5 separate regions of the Homo sapiens genome follow, and regions 1, 3, 4 and 5 are each linked to region 2. The links are contacts of gene promoters, found by promoter capture Hi-C in blood cells and fetal thymus (Javierre and others, 2016). All regions are on one chromosome and are shown on one strand. The core of a region is centred on a gene start or on the middle of the fragment in contact, and the rest is flanking DNA. Distances in the headings are between cores, read along the strand shown.

Region 1 (4,520 bases), core at 767-3,266, 4.8 Mb before region 2:
TTCTTTTGGGAGGAAAAAATGTCTTCCAGCTGATATGCAAACCTCAAAGTCACTGAAGGTTGGTATGGTTTTAAAGGATGAGAAATCAGAGGTTTCTGGGTGAAGGTACAATCAAGCCAATGCCCTTATTTGTTGGAAAGAAACTCGATTTTCCTTCTCTTCTCTTCTGTCTGTGAAGAGGAACATTTAAGAATGGGTCAGTTTACATTTGTTCCTTGGTTCTGGTATCCGCTAGAATTTTAGTTGCAAGGTTATGAAGAGCTAACCTACTTGGGAAACATAAAACAATTTTTTGTTGTTGTGGTGGTTTTGCTAAACTCTAACACTCACTTAAACACACAAAAGTTTAATTTAGAAAATATCCTTGGCTGGGCGCAGTGGCTCACGCCTGTAATCCCAGCACTTTGGGAGGCCAAGGGGTGCAGATCACCTGAGGTCAGGAGTTCGAGACCAGCCTGGCCAACATGCTGAACCCCCCCCCATCTCTACTAAAAATACAGAAATTAGCAGGCGTGGTGGTGCACGCCTGTAGTCCCAGCTACTCGGGAGGCTGAGGCAGGAGAATCGCTTGAACCCAGGAGGCGGAGGTTGCAGTGAGCCCAGATCATGCCACTGCACTCCAGCCTGGGCGACAGAGCAAAACTCTGTCTCAAAACAAACCAACCAACCAAAAACTAAAAGCCTCTCGCACTCCCGTGTGTATTGCAGCTTTATTCATAAGTGCCTAGATGTGTCCGTCAACAGATACATGGATAGAGAAAATGTGTACATACGCAATAGAATACTATTCGACCTTAAAAAAATACAAAACAAAATGAAATCCTGTCATTTTTCCTCTACGAAACAAAAATAAAAACATGGCTAAGTTTGGGCGACATTACATAAAGTGAAATAAACCGGGCACAGAAAGATAAATACTGCATGATCTCACTCACGTGCGGAAGCTGAAATAGTTGGTCTCACAGAGAGAATAGTGGTTACTGCAGGTAGTGAAGGTGGGGGGAGGTGGGATAGCCAAAGGGGGGTTACTGGATACAAAAGTACAGCTGAATAGGAGGAATAAGTTCCAGTGTCCCTATAGAGTGAATACAACAACTTATTGTACGTTTTCAAATAGCTGGAAGCGTGGATTTTTAATGTCTCCCAGCACAGAGAAATGATACATGTTTGAAGGGATGGATGTGGTCATTGCCCTGATTTGAACATTACAAATTGTGTACATAGATCACAACATCACACCACACCTCATAAATGTGCACAATTGTTATGCGTCCAAACAATAATAAAAACCAAAAATAAAAATGAAACACGTGGAAACAGGAAAAACGCCTTTAAGAATAGAGTATAGCAAGGACTTCCAAAAGCAAGTACAGGAAAGGGAGGGGGATGTAGCTCAGTGGTAGAGCGCATGCTTTGCATGTATGAGGCCCCGGGTTCGATCCCCGGCATCTCCATTGTAGTTTTGTTGCTTTCTGTATTCGTTTTGGTCCGTGGTTCTTTATCATTAAAGTGCCATGGATGTGATTATCATAAGCATTGTGATTCCAGGCACTACTTGGAGCTCAGATTCTCACACCAGGTGTGATCTTCCCATTCTGAAATCTCTAATGTTTCAAATGCACATGAGTTAGAAGAGGCTGATGGGAGTAATCAGCAGAAAAGTGTTAAGGCAAAACCTGACTTGATGACTGAAACCACAGCAAAAGTGAGCAGGATGATCATTTGGGGAGTGTACACCACATCTCGTGCCACCATGATTGTACTGCACTGGCCTCGAGGGCTGTTGACGCATTCTTGGCCATCAGAGGGCAAGTGTGTAAGTTGCTGGAAGGTCTGGGCCCCCCTGTTTGCCATCTCACTCCTCCTCTGCACTGCCACGAACCACCTCATTTGCATGGGAGGAACCCAGAAGCAAACTCACATCCCAGCGGGGCTTTGCTCTCTGCTTCCTCAGCAACACGTCTCCACGGCTGTAATGCAAGTGCAATTTACATTTATATTCATACACTGTGTTCCGGGGTGAGCAGGCCTATGCAAACCTACCCCAAAGGCCAAGGGAGCTGAGAGGCCAAAGAAAGGGGTTGACAAACCCAGTTTCTCAGGAAAAAACATTTATTAGGGACTTACCAACAGAAGCCATAGTCTCAGGGTGGTCATCAGAGGATATAAGGTTTGCTGCGCCATAACCCCCGGCCCAGGGCTTCCATACCATAGGGAAGGAATATATGTAGGACAATTGAAGTTGACCCCTCAAGCAAGGCAAGAATGTTATGTGAATCCGCATAAGGGAAGGATTTATGATCTAGGTTGTTCTGATCTAAGGGCAGAATTTATGGTAACAGTAAAGTAGAAATCTTAGAGACCTTCCTGGAAGAGGCATTAATCGGAAGTTATCTTGGTGGATTAGCAACCAAGATGGAGTTGCTTTCACCTCCACTGTGTTTCTGTGTTTTATCACTGAAAGCAAAAGATGGTGGCTCAGGCCTGTAATCCCAGCACTTTGGGAGGCATGAGGCAGGAGAATTGCTTGAGGCCAGGAGTTTGAAAGCAGCCTGGGCAACAAAGGGAGACCTTGGCTCGGAAAGGAAAGGAAAGGAAAGGAAGGGGAAGGGGAGGGAAAGGGGAAGGGGAGGGGAGGGGAGATTGATTTACTTGCATGAATGATCTTTAGGCAAAAATAAATACATAAAAATAAATTATATTTTTTAAAGTTTAACCAGTTCCCAGCTCTCTAAATAATAATAAGAATGAAAGAAGGGATTCGGCTGCATTCTGTGGTACAGTTCTTTGCAATTATAATGAATTCCTCACCTGTCAGCCCCTTTCTTTCATTTGACTTGACTTCATGTTTTAAATGGTAAAAGCGTCTAATCCTAGATCTAGAGCTTTCATTTTTGAGATGAAGAAAATGAAACTTGCGAACTGACTCACCAGTTAGGTGGTGACGCATTGGTGACAGCTTGTTTCTAATGAGCTTCAGGAAAGGTTATTTCTCCCTAAATGTCAACAAGGTTTTAGGGGAAAATCATTGAAGATAATTTCTGAAGTCATCAGGCCTAACACAAAACTTACATGCTTCTGTAACTGCCCAACAGTTTCTCCTTGCCCGCTGCCTAGACAGAGCCCATTTATTAGGACAGGGAAACTGTGATCCGCCCACCTCAGCCTCCCGAAGTGCTGGGATTACAGGCGCAAGCCACCTCGCCCTGCCATAATAGAGAACGTTTAATTCACACACAGCTGGCAGTGTGGGAGACGGGAGTTTTACTATTACTCAAATCAGTCTCCCTGAAAACTCAGGGATTGGAGTTTTGAAGGATAATTTGGTGTGTAGGGAGGTCGGGAAATCGGGAGTACTGATTGGTTGGGTCGGAGATGAAATCACAGGGAGTCGAAGCTGTCCCTTTGCCCTGAGTCAGTTCCTAGGTGGGGGCCACAAGACCAGATGAGCCAGTTTATCAATCTGGGTGGTGTCAGTCGGCCCACTGAGTGCAGAGTATGCAAAATATCTCAAGCACTGGTCTTAGGTTTTACAATAGTGATGTTATCCTCAGGAGCAATTTCAGCATGGACAGAATCTTGCAGTCTCCAGCTGCGTGACTCCTAAACCATAATTTGTAATCTTGTGGCCAATTTGTTAGTCCTGCAAAGCAGTCTAGTGCGCAGGCAGGAAGGGGGCTTGTTTTAGGAAAAGGCTATCACCTTTGTTTCAGAATTAAACTATAAACTAAGCTCCTCCAAAGTCAGTTCAGCCTACACCTAGGAATGAACAAAGACAGTTTGGAGGTTAGACGCGAGATGGAGTCAGTGAGGTCAGATCTCTTTCACTGTAATAATTTTCTGTTATGACTTTTGCAAAGGCAGTTTCACTTCTGTTTTACTTTGTTTCTTCTTTTGTTTATTTATTTATTTATTTTGCTTGAGACAGGGTCTGTTTCTGTTGCCCAGGCTGGAGTGCTGTGGTGCAATCACAGCTCACTGCAGCCTCAAACTCCTGGGCTCAAGTGATCCTCCCACCTCATCCTCCTGAGCAGCTGGAACTACAGGCATGCACCACCGCCTGGCTAATTTTTGTTTGTTTGTTTTGGTAGAGACAGGGTTTCACCATGTAGCTCAGCTGGTGTTTAACTCCTGGGCTGAAGTGACCCTCTCACGTTGGCCTCCCAAAAATGCTGGGATTACACGTGTAGGCCACCATGCCTGGCTATTTTTTTCAATATTTTTTATTTTTATTTTTTATTTCTTACTATGACCCCACACTTATATGACATTACTTTGTACCTTATAATTAAATATTTCAGCCAGGCACATTAGCTCATGTCTGTATTCCCAGCCCTGTGGGAGGCCAGGGCAGAAGGATCACTTGAGCCCAGGAGTTCAAGACCAGCCTGGGCAACATGGTGAAACCCCCATCTCTTATTTTATTTTTTGGAGACAGAGTCTCACTGTCACCCAGGCTGGAGTGCAGTGGCACGATCTCGACTCACTGCAACCTCTGACTTCAGGGCTCAAGTGATTCT
Region 2 (4,325 bases), core at 53-2,552:
AAAATAGTAACTTGTACTTTTCAGTAAACTTCTGCACATAATTTTAAGGACGAACATTGTTTTTTTTTTTTGAGACGGAGTTTCGCTCTTGTTGCCCAGAATGGAGTGCAATGGCGAGATCTCAGCTCACTGCAACCTCCGCCTCCCGGGTTCAAGCGATTCTCCCGCCTCAGCCTCCCGGCATTGCTTTTTATAAAGTCAAAAGAAAAGGAAGTTTGATAAAACAAGTAGAACTATCCGATAAATACTCGCCTGGAAAGGGACAGGATTATAAGAAACAGGTAATAAGGAGCTTAAAACCCTCTGCAGTTCTGCAGTGAGGATGGTCGTGGGGGCATACAACTTTCCGTTTCAGGTCAGTTTAGGTAGGGCAGGTGGGAACTCACTCTAAAACGAGAAACCGGGGCTGATGACAAAATGCACACGTTTAGCTTCTGGCGGCCCAGGTCTTCCTAGCCGCAGATTCTGAGACGTGTATCTGCAGGTGGTGTGAAATTGAAGCCGGGGGAGCGGTTGCTTTCGGTCTCCGAGGTGCGCCTTGCACACTGGGTCATTCAGCTCCCAGGCTCGGCTCGGAGCTGGACCACTCCCTCCCCTCCACCAAAGAGGCAATGTGGGCTCCAAGAGGTCACAGCGCTGGGATGGGATTTCGACCCCGCGCTGCCCTCAAAGGCCACCTCCTCGCAGCTCTGCTCCCGCCGGCAGCTCCCGTTCTGTCCAACTCGGAAGCCGCCCGCCGCCCTCGGCGTCCACTCCACAGGCCCGGGGCCGGGGCCAGCTCCGCGGGGGAGGGGTCGGTGCGGAAGGGGCGGGGTACCGGGCCTTCCCCGCGCGACTCTGCCTTCTACGGCCCCGGCCCCTGCCTCTGGAAACCCGGAGCTCGTGCGAGCCCCGCCCCACGGTCGCGGCGTGCCTGTCATTTCCTCTCCGCAGGGCGTGCGGGTCTCGAAGATGAGGGAGCAACAACGTCCACGACCGGGCTTCTCCGGCACCTTGGGCTTCTTTCCGCTGGGACTCGACAGCGGCTCGGCTCCGCAAGCTCTCAGCGCCCAGGGTGGCGGCGACGACGCTCCCCGAGGAGACGCGAGGAAGACGGGCCCGCGCTTGCTGGGACTCCGTCAGGGCGCGTGCGCGACCCGGGCGCGGCCGGCTCAGGCTGCGGCTGCGCAAGGCGGTGCCAGACGCTGCGCCTGCGCAGTGGTGGGGCGGGGCGGGAAGGAGGGAGGCGGTGGTAGCGGCGGCGGCTGCTGAGGAGGAGGAGGGGGAGCGGAGGGAGGTGTTTCTGTCAGTTCCGGCTGTTTGTTCGGGAAGTGGATCCGCCGCTGCCGGAGCAGCCCGAAGGGAGCTGCGGATCGCGAGGCCAGTACCGACCCCGCCCGCCCGCGCGCACCGCCCCCGCCCGCCATGGCCCGGGACTACGACCACCTCTTCAAGCTGCTCATCATCGGCGACAGCGGTGAGGGCCGCAGCGGCCGGAGGCGGCGCGGGCCCTGCCGGGCGCGGCCCGCGGGGGCCTCGGGGCGGCAGGCGGGCGGGGAGGTGCCGGCCCGTGCGGGGCGGGCGGGCGGGGCAGCCCGGCGGTCTGGGCCCCAGGGGTGCGCCGAGGGGCTCCGGACCGCGCCGAGGGGAGGTTGGGGCGCGGGGCGGAGGGGCCAAGCGCGCCGGGTCCAGTCATCGCGCCTGTTCCTGCCTCACGTGTGACCTTGGTCAAGTCGCGCGATCTCTGGAGTTGGAGAGACGTGGGTTCGAGTCTCAGGACTACCACCTGCCTCGCGCTGACCTTGGGCAAGTTGCTTCGCCGTCCTGAGCCTCAGTTCCCTCATCTGAGAAGTGGGGATGTGCCTTGCTGGGTGGTGTGAGGATTCGATGGGATAAAGTAGGAAAAGTGCGTAGCGCCCTACCCGGTAAAGTAAGCTCGAAGTAAATGTTCACTATTGTCATTATCATCAGTATCCTTTATAAGCGTCAGTTTCTTCCCATCTAAAATGAGGACGTTCTCAGAACCTGCCTCATGGGATTGCCGTGAGGTTTAAATGAGGTAAGTCGGATAAAGGGCTTTGCACAGGGTCTGGCATATTCCTGCTGAATTATTATATCCCTGCGTGGTTCAGTTTCCTCATCTGTAAGATGGAATGATAGTTGGATCTGCCTTATGGGGTTGATGTGAGTATTAAGTGAGATTCTGCAGTGTTGCTCACAGCTCCTGGCACATAGTGAGTTGTCACTGTTTGCTGTTACACTACTATATACAGAGGGGTCCTGGGGATGGGACAGCCAAAATTATAAAAGTGCTTTGGCCACACACACACACTGCTTGAGGGCTCCTAGCTCTGATCACTGCTCTAGCTCCAGTGCCTAGAACAGTGCCTGGCACCCAGTACATGCTTAAGACATATTTGCAGAAGGAATTAATGAATATTAAGTGTCCTTCGAAAAGGTAGACTGGTTTCTGGGAAAAGGTGGAGGGTTTTAGAGCTGTTTGGAGTGTGGCAGGTGAGCAGGTTTATGGAGTGACCAAGAGGTCAGGAAGGCAGGCCCCAGAAGGTTTATGGGAGCGAAACTGAGGTGCTGGGGTTATATGATGTTCATGAAAGAGTCTTGGGAGCATGCTCAGTTTGTAGACCAGACCTGAGCTGAGTGTGGGGAGGGATGTCTTATGATTGGAGGCAGAGGCCAGGCTGGTGGTAGAGCCCATGGACTGTTAAGGAAAGGGGATCAAATCAAGTGAGCGGTATGACTTGGGATGTAGGAGTGTTGGGTAGCGATGTCAGAGCTAGGTCAGGGAAGTGGGTGGTTTTGGCCTCCCTTTTAAAGCTGGATGGAGATGTGGTTGGTGGTTTGGATCAGGTGAAGGATGGCTGAGGTTTCCGTGGTTGCTGGAGGAGGGGAGAGGTAAGGGGGAAAGCTGGGGGCTAACCAGGGAGATGGAAGAGTAACTGAGGTTGGGGAAGGAGGTAGAAAGGTGGAGTACTGACTGGTTATGGTTTGAATGAAGGGAAACCAGGCAAGCTCTGGAGTGTTCTCTTGGAGATGGCCTTTGGTATTCTTCAGGGTCTTGAGGCTTCTTCCTTTACATGATTTCCTTGCAGCCCTGGCCTGGGTTCTGAGGGACTGGCACTGGGGCCATTTCTCTCTTTTTGGAGTGACAGCCCGCCGTGGTCAGGAGCCTTTATCCCTCTGCAAGACATCTGGACCTCTGCGTTGATATCCAACAGTGAAAAGCCTAAACTCAGCAGGAAGATGCAGCTTGTTGGCTCTTCTCCTCTGTAAAGCCCAGGGGATGGGTTTGGCCCGCTTTCTCACAGTACATTTTGTGTGATGAATTGATTTTTCTCTCCGAAGTCAGGTGTGGGAGAAGACTCATTGGGTCGAGATTTATGTGGTCTAGCTCCTAGGTCAGCCATGTAGGCGTAGGTTGTGCAGAGGAGATGGATGCTGTGCTCTTTGATTTCTCCCGACATTGAGATCCTCAAAGCTGGGAGATGGTAGCCATGGAAGTCCAGACTAAGCTTTGGCAGCTGAGCCCAGAGACTGACATTACACACTCCCCTGAACTGGGCTCCTTGTGTGAATGCCTCCTTAAGATATGTTGAACGATTTCACAGACGCTTATTCTCACCCGCCCCCTGTGTGATTTGTCAAATAAGGAAACTAAGGCTTAAGGCCGGGCGCGGTGGCTCACGCCTGTAATCCCATCACTTTGGGAGGCCAAGGCGGGCAGATCACCTGAAGACAGGAGTTTGAGACCAACTTGGGCAACATGATGAAACCTCGTCTCTACTAAAAATACAAAAGTAGCCGGGCATGGTGGAATGTGCCTGTAATCCCAGCTACTTGGGAGACTGAGGCAGGAGAATCGCTTGAACCTGGTAGGCGGAAGTTGCAGTGAACCAAGATCGCACTATTGCACTCCAGCCTGGGCGACAAGAATGAAACTCCGTCTTAAAAAAAAGGAAACTGAGGCTCAGAGGAGGTGACTTACTTGCCCCAAATCACATAGCTCAGCAGGGGCAAAGCCGGGAGCCACTGCATCTCAGTGCTAATACGTGTGCGAGCAGCTCATGTCAGGGCTGGCAAACAATAGGCCCTCCATGAATGCTGGTTTCTTTCTTCATAAATCTAGAGTTCTGCCCACTCTGCACATTGTGGATGCTTCTGCAATGGATTCCCTCAATCTCTGCATCCCTTCGTTATGCCGGAGGTTCTATATTTTCTTTTTTTCCTTTTTTTTTTTTTTGAGACGGAGTCTCGCTCTGTCGCCCAGGCTGGAGTGCAGTGGCGCGATCTCGGCTCACTGCCGGCTCCACCTCCCCGGTTCACGCCAT
Region 3 (4,758 bases), core at 211-2,710, 3.1 Mb before region 2:
ATATGGCAAAACCCCGTCTCTACTAAAAATACAAAAAATTAGCCGGATGTGGTGGCGGGCACCGGTATTCCCGGCTACTCGGGAGGCTGAAGCAGAAGAATCACTTGAACCCGGGAGGCAGAGGTTAAAGTGAGCCGAGATCGCGCCACTGCCCTCCAGCCTGGGTGACAGAGAGAGACCTTGTCCCCCCTACCCCCCTCCCCCACAAAAATAAAAAAAGTAAAAAAAAATTGGTAGGTATACTTAGGAAGCTCCAATGAGATGTAACGCCTCCTGGCAGATCTGTTATTCCAAGGGCAGATCCATTTCCTGGGTTGTGGAGGCCTAAGTGATAGTGCCAGGGAAGTCCCTTTACTGTGAGCCAGAACTCCTGGAGGTAAATCGAGTAGCTGGAAAGACCTTAAAGGTTAACTATGCTGAAGAATGTGGCCTGCACAGTGCGCATGAAATGGGCTGGGGTCCCACGGGGAGGAGAGCGAGTTCCCTTTGGTCCTTCAAAAGTAGGGCTGGGTGGCTTGCGCCTGTGATCCCAGCACTTTGGGAGGCCGAGGAAGGAGGATCGCTTGAGGCCAGGAGTTCGAGATCAGCTTGGGCAACACAGTGAGACCCCCCCACCCCACGTCTATTAAAAAAAAAACGAGTATCTCCGCAAAAGCCTAGCAAGGGCAGTGCTGACCTCTACTACGTGCCAGGCCTGAAACAGCACCTGATGCGTGCTCACAGCTCCATTCCGCTCAGTTTTGTACATGAGGATCCTTCCGTTTCGCCTTGGGCCTCCGTGGAACCGTTATCTCCAGGACGGTAGTCTCTCCTCTCCCCTGCCCTGAGTGCCTGAACAGCCCCAGGGCCGACCCACAGCACCTAGCGTAAACCAGGTCCCGAGAAAACTGAGCTCGGGTGTCACGGCCGGCCCCACCCCACCGCCAGCGCGGCCTCAGGTAAACTGGCTGCGCCACTCGGGGTCGCAAGTCGGGAAAAACCCAGGCGTCCCGGCTCGCAGTCCTCTCTCCGGAGCCTTTGACAGTCGTCGGCAGCCGTAGGGTTACCTGGCTTCTCCGCAGATGCTTACCTGGTCTCAGGACCCGACTCGTGCCCTCAACGTTCTAGGGATATCCAAATCACCTCAGCGGAGGATTCGCAATCGCGATCCCTGATCTGCGCACGCGCCGTACTCCGATCGCGGTTTCTCTTATCTACCAGAGGCTCATGTTTACTCACTGCGCATGCGAGAAACTGAAGCTTCTTTCCCTCGTGGCAGCGGCTGGCTCCCAGAGAGCCAATCAGAGAAGAGAGTTTCACAGCAATCCCGCCCCCTTGTCACTCCCCCGGGGTTGGATGTCTCTCTTTGGTTGGAGCTGCGCGAGGGGGAACGGCGAGGTGGACGCGCGCGCCATGCGAGGCTGTCTCCGCCTCCTTCCGGGCAGCCAATCACTGGAGAGACGCCGGGCGCGCGCGCGCTCCCTCGGGTAACGGTCGCGAGAGGCCGCTTGCATGACCCTGACATCGGCAGCGGGAGCGGCGGCCAGGTAAGCGGCCACCAGCCTGCAGGGAGCTGTAGGCCGCTGGGGACAGGAGACGAGACTTAGGAGACACTGTCTTAGCGGCCCCTTGAGTGTGGTGATGGGCTGGGGTGTGGGGTGACGGCTGCCGATTGGCCTGACCCCCTCGGAGCCCTTCGGCGTGTGGGAGCTCTGCCCGGCCGCGGTGCGCCTTTTCTAGACTCGGCGCCCTTGAGTGACACTCGCGCGGCCCAATCGCAGATCGCTCTTCCTGAGGGGCGGGGGGTTTGTGGGGTTTTTTTAATTTTTCCCCCCATTTTTTGCCAAGGTGCCCCGGTTTCCTTTTGGAATCGCGGTTGTAGTTGCAGGAGCGGTGGCTTTTCTCCGTCCTCCCTGCTTTCCGTAGCTTAGGCGACTGCATAGATTCTCCCTCTCCTTCCCACTTTGACCCGATAGCCGCCACCAGCCATTGCGGGCTGACTGTGAGCTCAGAATGTCGGGATCTGGCCTCATCCCCATCTGAAATCTCTTCCTCTCCCCCAAGCCTCCCGTCAAGGCGGAGCGCCCAGTTAACTTTCATGTTTCATAACCATCAATCGTTCCTTTTCCCCAGCTCCCTTTTTTTGCTAGGGGGTAGGGACACCAAAAGCGTCATATCTTGTTGCTGGGAAATATAAAAGCTCTGCTCTTATATTCATTCTGTATCAAGTTAAAAAAATTTTTTTTTGCATTGTATTTGTGGGTGTTTAAGGATTTTTCCCTCTTACTTCCCTGCCCTCCCCCCAGCACCTCCACCCCAAATGGAGAAGCATCTTTGAATTTCTAGTGGTTTTCCATCTGGATCTGCATCCGGATCCGGATTACCTTAGCAGGGGAAATAATAGATGGGGTTGCAGGTTCATCTCCCTGGAGAGCTTGTGTTTTCCTGGTGTAATAGCATGGTGATTGGAATCCAGGTATTTCTGTTGCCAGTTGGAAGGGGCAGTCCTTGACTGTTTCAATGCCCCATTTGTCGTGGGTGATGGGCTGAGCCACTGGGGAAAAGTCCATTTAGTTAGGTCCGGTTACCCTTTGCATTCACTCCTGTCCCTGAAGGAAATGGTCCCTGTTTTTGTGTAATGCTTTATAAAAGCAGGCCCTAGAAAGTGGGAATCTAGCAGAAGCGGAATACTAGATAATATTCCTGTTGCACTCTCTAAGCTTTTCAGTTTGTAAGCAGCTGAAGTTTTCTTTCTTTCTCCTTTTTCCTCTTGCTCCCTTGCTCTTTTATAAGTGCATGAATTCCCCAGGAAGGAGGCATCTTGTTTGACCTGTTACAGCCAATTTGCCATGGTATATATCCAGCTTCACTGAAATTTTAGTTGGCCTGGCAAATAATTTTTTTATTTTTATTTTTATTTTTTAAGAGATGGGGTCTTGGTCTGTTGCCCAAGCTGGAGTGCAGTGGCAGGATCATAGCTCACTGCAGTCTTGAACTCCTGGGCTGAAGTGATCCTCCCACCTCAGCCTCCAGAGTAGCTGGGACATGCTCCCAGTAGCTGCAGGCAGGCTCCAGTGTGCCCAGTGGTTTATTTTCTAAGAATAGCTGCACAGAGACAAAAGACCATATATATAGTTCAAAATGTACTTCCAGACAATGGGGAAGCTATGGTTGTTAACAGTTTAATTGGCTCTTTTTAATACAAATTAAATATTAAGTAGTTCAGTTCTTCTTGTCTCTGTATAAGTCAACAAACATATATACTTGGTAGAATTTATTAAACAAATGAACAAGGCATGCAAGTATTCCAATTGTTACATAATAGAATTATATCTAGAACTTTCATTGTAAAGCCTGGCAAAATGGTTTGCGCTATAATCCCAGCTGCTCGGGAGGCTGAGCACTTGAGGCCAGGAGTTGTAGACCAGCCTGGGCAACATAGCAAGATGCTGTCTCTAAAAAAAAGAACCTTGATTATTAAACATATAAAAATCTGAAATATTACCTGAAAAAGGTGATGCTACTTTTGCAAATAATCCTTAATGTAGATTTTTAATTGAGATACATAATTCACATACCATAAAATTCAGTCTTTTACAAGTGTACAATTCAGTGGTTTTTAGTTCACAAGGTTGTGCAGCCATCACCACTATCTAATTCCAGAATTTTTTATCACCCCAAAAAGAAACTCCATACCAGCTGCACTCACTCACATTCTCTCCTTCCCCAGCTCCTGGCAGCCATTTGTCTATGAATTTGCCCATTCAAGATATTTCATATCAATGAAATCATATAGTCTGTGGTCTTTTGTGACTGGCTTTTTTTACTTAGCATAGTATCTTCAGTGTTCATGTATGTTGTAGCATGTGTCTTTTTATGGCTGAATCCTATCCTGTTCTATGAATATGCTTCATTCGTTTATCCATTTATCCATTGATGGACATTTGGGTGGTTTCTACATTTTGATTATTATGAATACTGTTGCTATCCTTAATGGAGATCTGTATGAAAGCAGTTAAGGTTTCCAAAGTTATGTAAAAACAGTTGCTAGCTTTGGTGGCTTTTTATAGTAGTATTTTTTTCCCCCATTCATTTTCAGACTCTCTTGGAAGTTTAGGATATTTCACAGTTCTGAATGTTAGCCACTGAAAATGCCAGTAGATGATGAAGCCTCTGAAGATGACACGGATTCATTTTTCTCAAACAGCCCAAGAACCTTTATTTTCCAATAAGAGAATATAACAATTTCTGTACACTATGGAAGAGTTTGACTTGGTGAAAACCTTACACAAAACTTCATCTTCTGTAGGATCTGATGAAAATTCTCTTCATTCTCTTGGACTGAACTTAAATACTGATAGGTAAGAATGGGATTTAAAAAAAATGTACCAAATCAGAATAACCTTATTTGCATACGTTTATCAACTTATCCAAATAGTGTCATAGTTACTGATTTGAATTATTATTATTTTTTAACCTATCATCAAGAATGTTCAGGGAGGCTGGGCGCGGTGGCTCATGCCTGTAATCCCAGCACCTTGGTAGGCTGAGGCGGGTGGATCACCTGAGGCCAGGAGTTGGAGACCAGCCTGGCTAACATGGTGAAGCCTCGTCTCTACTAAAAATACAAAAATTAGCCAGGTGTGGTGGCACGCGCCTGTAGTCCCAGCTACTCAGGAGGCTGAGGCAGGAGAATTGCTGGAACCTGGGAGGCAGAGGTTGCAATGAGCCAAGATTGCGCCACTGCACTCCAGCCTGGGCGACAGAGCGACACTCTGT
Region 4 (4,834 bases), core at 2,262-4,761, 3.3 Mb before region 2:
TCTCTAATTGTGGGTCAGGTATGTTATTTTTGCAACTAAGCAAGACAATCAAGCTTGAAGGATATGCTAACTCTTGTGAAAGCAGGGAAAACCTGTCAAACCAACAGGGCACACACCCTGGGACAAGCCATTCTTTCAGCAGCAAGACAGAACATGGCTCAAACCTCTCGAATCTGAGACTGAAAAGGTTGGATAAATACATATGTGCATTCTTGCAGAGGACAGAGGCTTCTGCAACCCGACCAGCTGGGATCAGAACGAGGCCATTTCAAAAGCTTACCTTCTCGTTTCCTGTAGATTCCGGCTAATGGTTTCCCCTGGCATTTGACTTCGTGATGTGTAACTGAGTTCTCTTCCTGAAGGGGGAAACGCATTCCAGAGCATTTGTTCGGGCTCATGTAGGAATAGATCTTTGACTGCCCGGTAAATACGTTCTCCTAAAAAGACAAAAGCATATTCTGAAAGAGGCTTGAAGAAGAAGATCCTAGAGCATTCACGAGGAGGAGGAATACAAAAGATGAAAATCAGACAACACCGTTTTTCAAAAACTGGGCTACCAGGGGATGCCAGCCCCCATTGTCTCAGGAGAGCACTGGCAGGTTTAGAATCCCAGGTCCAGTGAAACGTTTCCTAAACGCGCTGGTCTCTAAATCACTAAGGGGACAGCTGGCCAGCAGGAGAGTCGGCTGCAACCCAAGGTCTATATAGGAAGAAGACAGCCTACCCGCAACAGGGAGGTCAAAAGGACCTGGGCATGTGAAGAGCTAGGCTATCTTTAGGAGTTCACTGCCCTGGCAGGAGCCGCAGGGACTCAGCACAGAAACACGCCCCGGGGAACCTGATTAACCACTTGGTGCTGAGGGCGGCTGGAGGGCCTGTCAGCACAGCCAGAGCCCCATGAGCGCCGGAGCCTGACCCCTCTCAAATCACTGCAGCCCCGCAGCCTCCAGGGCTGCGACGGGAGGACTTCTCTCAGGGTGACTGGGGAATCTGGGAAGAGCAGGAGCCACAGCCAGCGCATTCGGGGCGGCCACTTTGTCGCAAGCCGCACCTGGGCGTCAGTAAGAGAGTGGACGGGGCGGTGGGGCGGTTCAGGTCACTGCGGGCGCCTCTGGGCGTGGGGCCCCTCCTCTGAGTAAGTACAGACGGAGGAGGGCGTCCCCAGAAGCAACGCCGGGCCCTCGCCGCCTCGGGGACCATTCAACACCGAGGCGGTGAGACCCGTGACCTCTCCGAGGGGCCCGCGCAGGCCCCGCACAGCCTGGGACCGCGGCCACCTCCGGGGAAGTAGGGTCTTGGGCTGCGGAGACGCCACGAAGGCGCAGTCAAACTTTTCCGAGGTCAAACACCGCCAGGCTCATGGCGGAGCCGTGTGGGCGCCACTCCCAGCCAGGCGGCAGCAAAGGAAGCGGCCCGGCCGGGCGCCCCGGGCGGGTACCCGGGGTCGCCCATGTGCTCGCGGCCCCGGCCCGGCGGGCGCGCCGCAGGGGTGCGGGGAGGGTGCCTGCTTACCCCGTCGGTGCGGGGCCTCCCCGGGCCCCTCCGCTCCACCATCTCCGGGCCCGGGGCCGTCGCTGCCACCGCCGCCGCCGCCGCCGCCGCCTCCACCGCGCGGGGCTTGGACATCTTCCTGCCTGGAGAAGGGGACCCGGGGGAAGCGGGGGAGGGGGCGCTCAGGGCGCGGCGGGGCGGGGAGCGGGGCCGCCCGGGCCGGGCGCCGCGACGGCGCCTCCCGCCGCAGCCATATTTCGAGGCCCCGGCTCTGGTGAGCCGCCCGCGCAGCCGGGAGGGCCGGGCCGGAGCCCGCGTCGCCCTCCCGCCGCCCGGCCCGGCCAGGCCCCGCGCGCCGCCCGCCCCCCGCGCGGCCGGGCCCGACACACCCACCTGCAGCCCGGCCAGGCCCATGGCGGCGCGCCCCGCGCCCTCGCCGCCGCCACCAGCGCCGCCGCGGCGCCCCGGGGAAGGGCCGGCGGCGCCCCACGGCGCCCCCTTCCCCCATGGCCGGCGAGGCAGGGCCCGGCACCCGCGCACCGCGGCAGCCCCGGGCCGCCCGGGGCGAGGCACGAAGGGAAGGAGGCGCAGGCGGCGCGTCCTCCGCAGCCCTCCCGCCCGCTCGCAGCCGCCCACCGTCCGGCGCCCGGCCCGGGGAGGGGGCTGGTAGGGGCGGCGCCGCCAGGCCGCTCCGGAGGGCGGGCGGGCGGGCGCGGCGAATCCCGGCTCGGGCGCGCCCCCTCTCGCGCGGCCTCAGCCACTCGCGGAGGAAGGGGTGGGAAACACCGTCATGACAGCCCAGGCTCCCGCCCGCCCTCCCGCCAGCCCGCCCGGCTCCTTTTTCCGCTGGCTCTGCGGATATTTTGGGAACCCGGTCTGTGCCAGACGAAATCAGCAGCGGTGAACGCGCCAGGCCAGGCCCTCGGGTGTGCCCGGCGCTGTGCCCACCGAGAGTTTCACAGGCATTGAATCCTCCCCGCACGCCCACGGGGGCAGGTCCTGTCGGCATCCCAGCTTACAATGGTGACACTGTGACTCAAGGGATGTGCAGGGGTTTGTCCCGGGCCACAGAACTAGGAAGTGATGGGGCCAGGTGTCAAACCCAGAAGGGCTGTACTTGACCGGTAGGAAGCCCTGGGGAGACAGAGCCAGGGGTTATAATGATCGGTTTCCTGGGCGAGTCTCTTGCCGTTATCTCACTGAAACCTCACAGCAGCCCTGCAAAGGTAGACACCATTATTATCTCTTTTCAACAGATGGAGAAAGTGAGGAGCTTGGCCAAGTTCTCAGAACTAGATGGGTTTTCAGCCCCAGCCAACTGACCCCAGGGCCTTGCCCTCCCAGCCACTACCCTTCCTGGTTACAGATGAGGAAATGGAGTTTGGGAGAAGCAAATGGTCTTGCAGAAGGGTTTAACATGTCACCTTGTTCTCCTATCCCGCCGTGAGAAAATGCCCCCATAGGCAGACGAGGTTCCCGTCACTCTGGTGGCTGTTTCAGCATAGCTCACTGCCCTGCACCACTACTCTGTGGCCATTAAGGCTTGAGGGCCCACAGCCAGATTCACTGTATTTGTGCAAAGTCATAGATGCAAACAAGACACTTCAAGGCATCCAGCTCCTGCAGCCTGGCCCATGGCCTGGGAGTCAGGGGCTGGACTTATTTCCCTGCATCTGCCCAGAGGTGTTTTGTGACCATCGCCAAGTCACTTCCCCAGTCTGGGCCTCAGTGTCCTCATGGGTAAAAACCAAGAACCTTGAATTCCATAATCCACCAGAGCACCTTCCAACATCCACAGATAAGCAAATGGCTGTTTGTAGCCATCCTCCCACCTAGCCTCCCTCGACTCCCATTGGAACGGATAAGACTGAGTAGGATTAGGTGGTGACAGGTCACTGCTCAGACAATCCCTCCCAAATCAGCTCATGCTTTAGCATCCTTCAAGGCAGGGTCTCCAGCCCAACCACTAACTCCAGTGGGCTAGGTACTCTGCCTATGCCCTCTGCAGAGCCTACTACAGTTGAATATCCAAAAGATTACCCAGAGGGTGAAAGAGGATTCGAAAGTGACACTCTGATAACCAGGTTGAGCCATTTGAAAGCGTCTTCTATTTCTGCAAGGCAGAGAAGTTTTGCAGCTTAACTGCCATGAGAATCATGGTTTTGGAGCAGGAAGCACCCACATAGATCATCTTATCCATTTCACATTCTAGTATACCGAGCCACACCCCACGCCCCACTCATGGTCATAGCTTTCTCTGCATTTGAGCCCCCAATTGCAGGGGACACATTACAAGTCTAGCACCTATTCCTCTCAATTCTGCAGCTCCAGTACCTAGAAGATGTAAATACAGATCATTCAATGTAAGTTTCAAAACAGTCCTTTCTCCGCAAGTTTATACGTATATAACAAATACACCAGCTGGGCGCAGTGGCTCACACCTGTAATCCCAGCACCTTGGGAGGCAGAGGAGGGCAAATCACCTGAAATCAGGAGTTTGAGACCAGCCTGGCCAACATGGCGAAACCCCGTCTCTACTAAAAATACAAAAATTAGCTTGGCGTGGTTGCGCATGCCTGTAATCCCAGCTACTTGGGAGGCTGAGGCAGGAGAGTCACTTGAACCCAGGGGGGTGGAGTTTGCAGTGAGCCAAGATTGTGCCACTGCACTCTATCCTGGGTGACAGAGTGAGACTCTGTCTCCCAAAAAAAAAGAAAAGTCTGTATTTTTGGAGACCCCCCCACCAGGTGCTAAGGGATAATGAACTGAAGATGGCAAAATGAGGAGGGCAACCAACCAAGAGACCATTCAACAATGGCAGTAGAAATAGTGAAAGGTAGGTGGACTGACCCCTGAGACTAATATATTGGGGTTGTAAATATTTGCATGATTATAAAACTTCAAAATGAGTGAGGTGTTGCCTGGCATCTGACCAGTTTGTTTCTGTGACCCAGCAGGGCTCTCAAAGTGAATTGCAAGTTCAAAGCCCAATTTTCTAGAAGAAAAAGACTGTTCATTTGAAGTGCTGTAAATGATTTGGTATTTACAATTCTAAATATTGGCCAGGCGTGGTGGCTTTTGCCTGTAATCCCAGCACTCTGGGAGGCCGAGGTGGGCAGATAACCTGAGGTCAGGAGTTCAAGACTAGCCTGGCCAACATGGCGAAACCCCGTCTCTACTAAAAATACAAAAATTAGCTGGGTGTGGTGACAGGTGCCTGTAATCCCAGCTACTTGGGAAGCTGAGGCACAAGAATCACTTGAACACAGGAGAGGGAGGGTGAAGCGGGCTGAAATCACTCCACTGTACTCCAGCCTGGGTGACAGAGAGAGACTCTGTCTCA
Region 5 (4,832 bases), core at 1,797-4,296, 3.9 Mb before region 2:
GACATCTACCTTCCTCTCTAATGACTTCTGTTACCTTGGCAGGCACTTTCTCCGCTACCTTTTCTCCACTTGTCCTTCAAGGTACCCATGCTCCAGCCATACTATTAACAGCCAGGTGGGCACTCACACATGGATGAAAGGGCACCACTCTGCCTATTTCCTGGCCTGCCCCTACGTGGAAGGGACCAGTTTACCAAGATGAAGAGAAATCACTCCCAGAAGTCAGGTGTACTCTGACAACAGGATGACTGACAAAAGGACCACTAATGCCCAGAGGAACCTCCACCACCCACTCAGAGAGGCAAGAGTCTACCCAATGAACCCCAAAGACAATCATGGTATTATCTGAAGTCGAGGTCATGCAGTCTCAAATAATTCTATGTGAAAAATATCAATGGTCCAGTCTATCTAGACAGATATGCCCCAATTTACAGAAGTACAACTATATTGCAAGAAAAATTTACCATGTAGAAATATTGATTTTAATACCATAGCTATGTATAGTATCTAGTCATTCTTACAGCAAAACATGTGTACTGTAAAATTATTCTTTGTAAATCCTCTTCGTGACACACCTATGTGTCCTATAAGACCTTCAAACTCAAGTACATCCAAAACTGAATCAGTCACTTCCTCACCAAAGCCTACTATATTCCTGTCTTAATCTGTTTTCTATTGCTTACAAGAGAATACCTGAAACTGGATAATTTATGAAGAAATTTATCTCTTACAGTTATGGAGGCTGAAAAAGCCCAGGACCACATCTGGTGACAGCTCTCCTGCTGGTGGGGACTCTCCAAAGAGCCCTGAGCCGGCACAGGGCATCACACGATGAGAGGGGGCTGAGCATGTTAACATGCTGTCTCAGATCTCTTTTCTTTTTATAAAGCCCCCAGGTCCCCTCCCATGACAACCCATTAATCTATGAATGGCTCTGCCCTCATGAGCCAAACCTCTGAAAGGCCCCACCTCTCAACACTGTCACATTGGGGATTAAGTTTCAACATGAGTTTTGGAGGGGACAAATATTCAAACCATAGCCAATTCCCAACTATAGTAAATGAGTCCACTCTCCCCTCAATTGCCCAAGTCAATATCATTGACTTCCCCCCATCACAAAGGTCTAGCCACTCTCTTCCAAATACCTCTGGAAACTCTCCACTGTGTACCTGCATTGTCTCAACTTAACTCAAGCCACCATCATCTTCCCTGGAATTCTACAAAAGCCTCCAGTCTTGCTTCCCTCTAATCCATTATCTACTCTAATGTAACCTTCTAAAATGCAAAATGGATTGTTCTTACCCTACTCACAAGTTTTCAATGGGTCCCAATCATTTTCAGTGTAAATTCCAAATTTATTCATTGGCTTTAACCAAAAAAAAAAGTGCTCATGTCTATTTGCCATGTAGCTATCATGTCCCAGATATACTTTGTTAAATCAAATGTTCCATCATACATGTAATACAGGTACATGTAATCTTGGCAAATACAAAAAAGATTATTTAAATCACCCGACATCCTACCGAATTCCACAATTCTTAAGATTTCCATCTAATTTCTTCTACATATTTTTGCCATTCATAGGTTTTACTGGAAGGCTGCTGGGACTTTTTTTGGGGCGTTTTCATCATATCAGGTATACAATTGTGTATCCTGATTTCCTTCCACTTAACACTATCATAAGCATTTTAATATATTTTCTTCATAAACGTTTTTAATGGCAATGTTATTTGCCACTAAATATATGATATAGGGGATGTATCATAACCATTCTGCAAACTGTGCCCATAAATATAATTCTACAATATACATATTTTGTGCAGAAAGCTTTTCTCTGTATTTAAAAATATTCTTTTGATGGTTCCTAGACCATCAAGAAATGTAAATAATTTTAAGACTCTTGACACATATGGCCAATGTAACATAAGAGTGTGTCATTTTTACCACATCCTTTTAGGTACTAGGCACTGTATATTTTTGTCTAAATCTAGACCTTCATGAAATTGGTGAGAAATTGTAACATCTTCCTTACAAAAGTAAATGCCCATTGTAAAAAAAACTGAAGCAATGCAAACACATGTGATATGAAAAACCAGTCTCCCCTAGGCTTTTCCCATGAAGTAATCAGAATTAAATGTTTTCAGGTATTCTAGTCTTTTTCTAATTCTTATTCAGAATATATATATATACACACACTCACCCTTCATTATTTTGTTTTGTATCTTACAAAAAATGAGATTAAGCTTGCTTTTTTGGCTCAACAGTATATTCTAGACATCCATACAGGCTATGTCAGTACATACAAATCTACCTCTCTATATAAAAAACTAATAGGCTAGACATGGTGGCTCATGCCTGTAATCCCAACACTTTGGGAGGCCAAGGCGGGAGGATCACTTGAGGCCAGGAGTTCAAGACTGGCCTGGGTAACGTGGTGAGACTCCGTCTCTACAAAAAAAATTTAAAAATCAGCCAGGTGTAGTGGTGTGTGTGTGTGTGTGTGGTCCCAGCTACTTGAGAGGCTGAGGCAGATCACTTGAGCCCAGGAGGCTGAGGCTACACTGAACCACATTCCGTACCACTGCACTCCAGCCTAGGCAACAGAGCAAGACCCTGTCTCAAAACAAAACAAACAAAAAATCCCACAAAAAACAAAACGCTACTTGATATTCCACAGTATATGGGTACCAAAATTTATTGTGATTATCTTCAATTTTTCATTATAAATGACGCTGCAATAGACATTGTTTATATTAACGTATGTTCTCCTATGAAAATAGCACAGATTCCTTGAAGTGTAGCTGCTAAATCAACGTGTACTTTTATTTTGATAAAATTCTGCCAAAATTGCCATCTAAAAACTTGGAAAAATTTTATGTCCCAACAATGTATTAGGTGCCTCTTTTACATCGCTGGATAGTTTTTAATTTTTGCCTGATGCCCTCCTCCCAACAAAAAAATCTAGTTTTTAAATTTCCATTCTCTTAATCACAATGAGGTTGAATTTCTCTTCACTGTTTGAACACATTTATCTAAGAACTATTCATATCCTCAATTCATTACCTAATTTGTTAATTCTATTTATTCTTTATACATGCTACAGGTTGTTTTCCCAGTCTGTCACTCTGTAACGCTTTTTGTCACAGAATTATCAACTGTGATTATAGTCAAATTTATCAATCCTTTCATTTATGATTTTAGGTCTTGGTCTTACCTAAATGGCCTACCTAAAACACATCATTTCCAGTGTATCCTTCTACATAACAAATTCTCTTATATTTCCTTCTAATGCTTTTATAGGTTTTTTTAGTTAGTTCCTTAATCCATCTAAGTTATTTTGAATGTGAAGTAGGATCTTTCTTTCTAAATAAAGAGCCACTTATCCCTATACAACACACTGAATTATAATTTCCCAACTGTTGCAAAACACCAACTTTATCATATACTAAATTCTGATATAAAAATGGGTCTGTTACTGGATTCTACTTTGCTCCAGGCGTCAATCTGTCTATTCTTGTGTTCACCATTTATATTACTGCAGCATTTCAGTATGCTTTGACTTCTCATATAGCAAATCCCCCAACACTACTTTTCCATTAAAAACGTTTGTCATTTTTTGGCCATTCTAGGACATTTACTCCTATAAAAGAGTTTTAGAAGCAATTTATCTAGTGTCCAGAAGAATTCCCACTGGGATTTCAATTGTAATTACATTGAAATCATAGTTTAATTTGGAGGTACTGCAATCTACAATGATGCCTTCCCCTCCAGGAACAAGTCTGCCCATTTATTTAGGTTAGCTTTTAAATCATTTAGGTAAAAGTTTTTACTTCTCTTCATAAAGCTTTGGTACATTTATGTCTTACTTGTAAATGTTTTCTAGTTTTGCTGCTATTCAGAACAGAATCTAACTTTTCTATACGGTAATTAGTGATTTGATTATTAATGAATTACACAGCTTTTCCAATGTTTCACAAGTTATATTTCTATCCAGCGAACTGTCTATTCACATCCTATAACCACCTGTGTGTGGATCTTCATTATTTTCTTCACCAATTTGGATGAGTTCTTTGCATATTGAAAATACTAACTCTTAGCTTATCATTTGCCACAAATATTTTCCACTTTATGATTCGGGTTTTTTTTTTCCCTTCTCTTCCTAAAGAATAAATTTTTATGTAGTCTAATACACTAATTTTTAATTATTATTTTCTCTATTGTTTCTAATAGCAGCAGCTACTTACAGATTTGAGTGCCCTGTAGGTGCCTGGCCCTTTATCTCTTACTCTCATAACACCTGCAAAGTGGGGATAATTTTCCTCACTTAAAAGATTCCAGTTTAGACACATCTGAGTCTAAAGCATGTGCTCCATCCACCTTAGCATGTAAAACTCCTCTTTCCAGATGTTTAATATTTACTTACATTTTCTTTAGACTCAGGGGGCATTTGTGATGATTTCATTATTATTTATGACATTTCCATATAAAAAAGTTTATTTCTGGGGTGCTGAATAAGTTCCATTGACCTGTATGGATATTTTACAGCCAGAACGATACTGTTTTAATGAATGTGGCTCTATAATATGTTTAAATATATTTGTCTCACCTCATTACTCATAAGTATTCTACCACGTTCACCCCAAAATGAGCATCTCCATAACATGCAGACATCACAGCCCGGAAGATGGCCTCTCTTTCCGTTCAAGGTACCCCTTCAGACCTTTCAGGATACTTTATGGTCTCCTCCACAGAGTGCACACTTGACTCTATAAGGTTGTGCCTACACGGTTCACTTGTTTTGCTGCAACCTGGTCAGAGCCAGTTTCTTGTTT

What was found. Contacts are between HindIII fragments. The CHiCAGO score rates a contact against its expected background, and 5 or more counts as called.
Region 1: a contact is called between a fragment that was not itself captured here and the fragment with the promoter of RAB35 in region 2, in 1 of 17 cell types (M0 macrophages). The highest score is 5.5, in M0 macrophages.
Region 3: the fragment with the promoter of MPHOSPH9 here is called in contact with the fragment with the promoter of RAB35 in region 2 in 1 of 17 cell types (total B cells); the score reaches 5.8 in total B cells.
Region 4: a contact is called between a fragment that was not itself captured here and the fragment with the promoter of RAB35 in region 2, in 1 of 17 cell types (monocytes). The highest score is 5.1, in monocytes.
Region 5: a contact is called between a fragment that was not itself captured here and the fragment with the promoter of RAB35 in region 2, in 1 of 17 cell types (naive B cells). The highest score is 7.3, in naive B cells.

The regions. Positions count from the first base shown.
Region 1 is chr12:124,918,689-124,923,208 of GRCh38, reverse strand. It overlaps TRA-TGC3-2 (tRNA-Ala (anticodon TGC) 3-2), which reads left to right and starts at 1,383; the gene lies at 1,383-1,454. RefSeq lists enhancers at 1,588-1,907, 1,474-2,152, 1,988-2,177, a cis regulatory region at 1,762-1,932 and a silencer at 4,006-4,155. The HindIII fragment of the contact is 6,001 bases long and covers 1-4,520 here.
Region 2 is chr12:120,113,730-120,118,054 of GRCh38, reverse strand. It overlaps RAB35 (RAB35, member RAS oncogene family), which reads left to right and starts at 1,302. Exons shown (of 6, transcript NM_006861.7): 1 at 1,302-1,456. The coding sequence starts at 1,405. It overlaps RAB35-AS1 (RAB35 antisense RNA 1), which reads right to left and starts at 1,148. Exons shown (of 1, transcript NR_182302.1): 1 at 1-1,148. RefSeq lists silencers at 236-414, 402-461, 552-901, 1,062-1,371, 1,472-1,601 and enhancers at 527-1,318, 1,319-2,111. The HindIII fragment of the contact is 4,184 bases long and covers 1-3,511 here.
Region 3 is chr12:123,229,843-123,234,600 of GRCh38, reverse strand. MPHOSPH9 (M-phase phosphoprotein 9) reads left to right here and starts at 1,460. Exons shown (of 24, transcript NM_022782.4): 1 at 1,460-1,526; 2 at 4,079-4,340. The coding sequence starts at 4,237. It overlaps MTRFR (mitochondrial translation release factor in rescue), which reads right to left and starts at 1,165. Exons shown (of 3, transcript NM_152269.5): 1 at 1,070-1,165. RefSeq lists an enhancer at 1,448-1,687. The HindIII fragment of the contact is 1,460 bases long and covers 1,242-2,701 here.
Region 4 is chr12:123,386,233-123,391,066 of GRCh38, reverse strand. KMT5A (lysine methyltransferase 5A) reads right to left here. Exons shown (of 8, transcript NM_020382.7): 2 at 1,513-1,634; 3 at 281-437. Among named protein-coding and RNA genes, the nearest start is that of KMT5A, 4.5 kb to the right of the region's middle. RefSeq lists silencers at 1,404-1,513, 1,934-2,293. The HindIII fragment of the contact is 6,467 bases long and covers 278-4,834 here.
Region 5 is chr12:123,977,485-123,982,316 of GRCh38, reverse strand. All of the region lies in intron 2 of ZNF664-RFLNA (ZNF664-RFLNA readthrough), which reads right to left. The region is part of intron 2 of ZNF664 (zinc finger protein 664); the gene reads right to left. Among named protein-coding and RNA genes, the nearest start is that of ZNF664-RFLNA, 6.7 kb to the right of the region's middle. The HindIII fragment of the contact is 1,601 bases long and covers 2,246-3,846 here.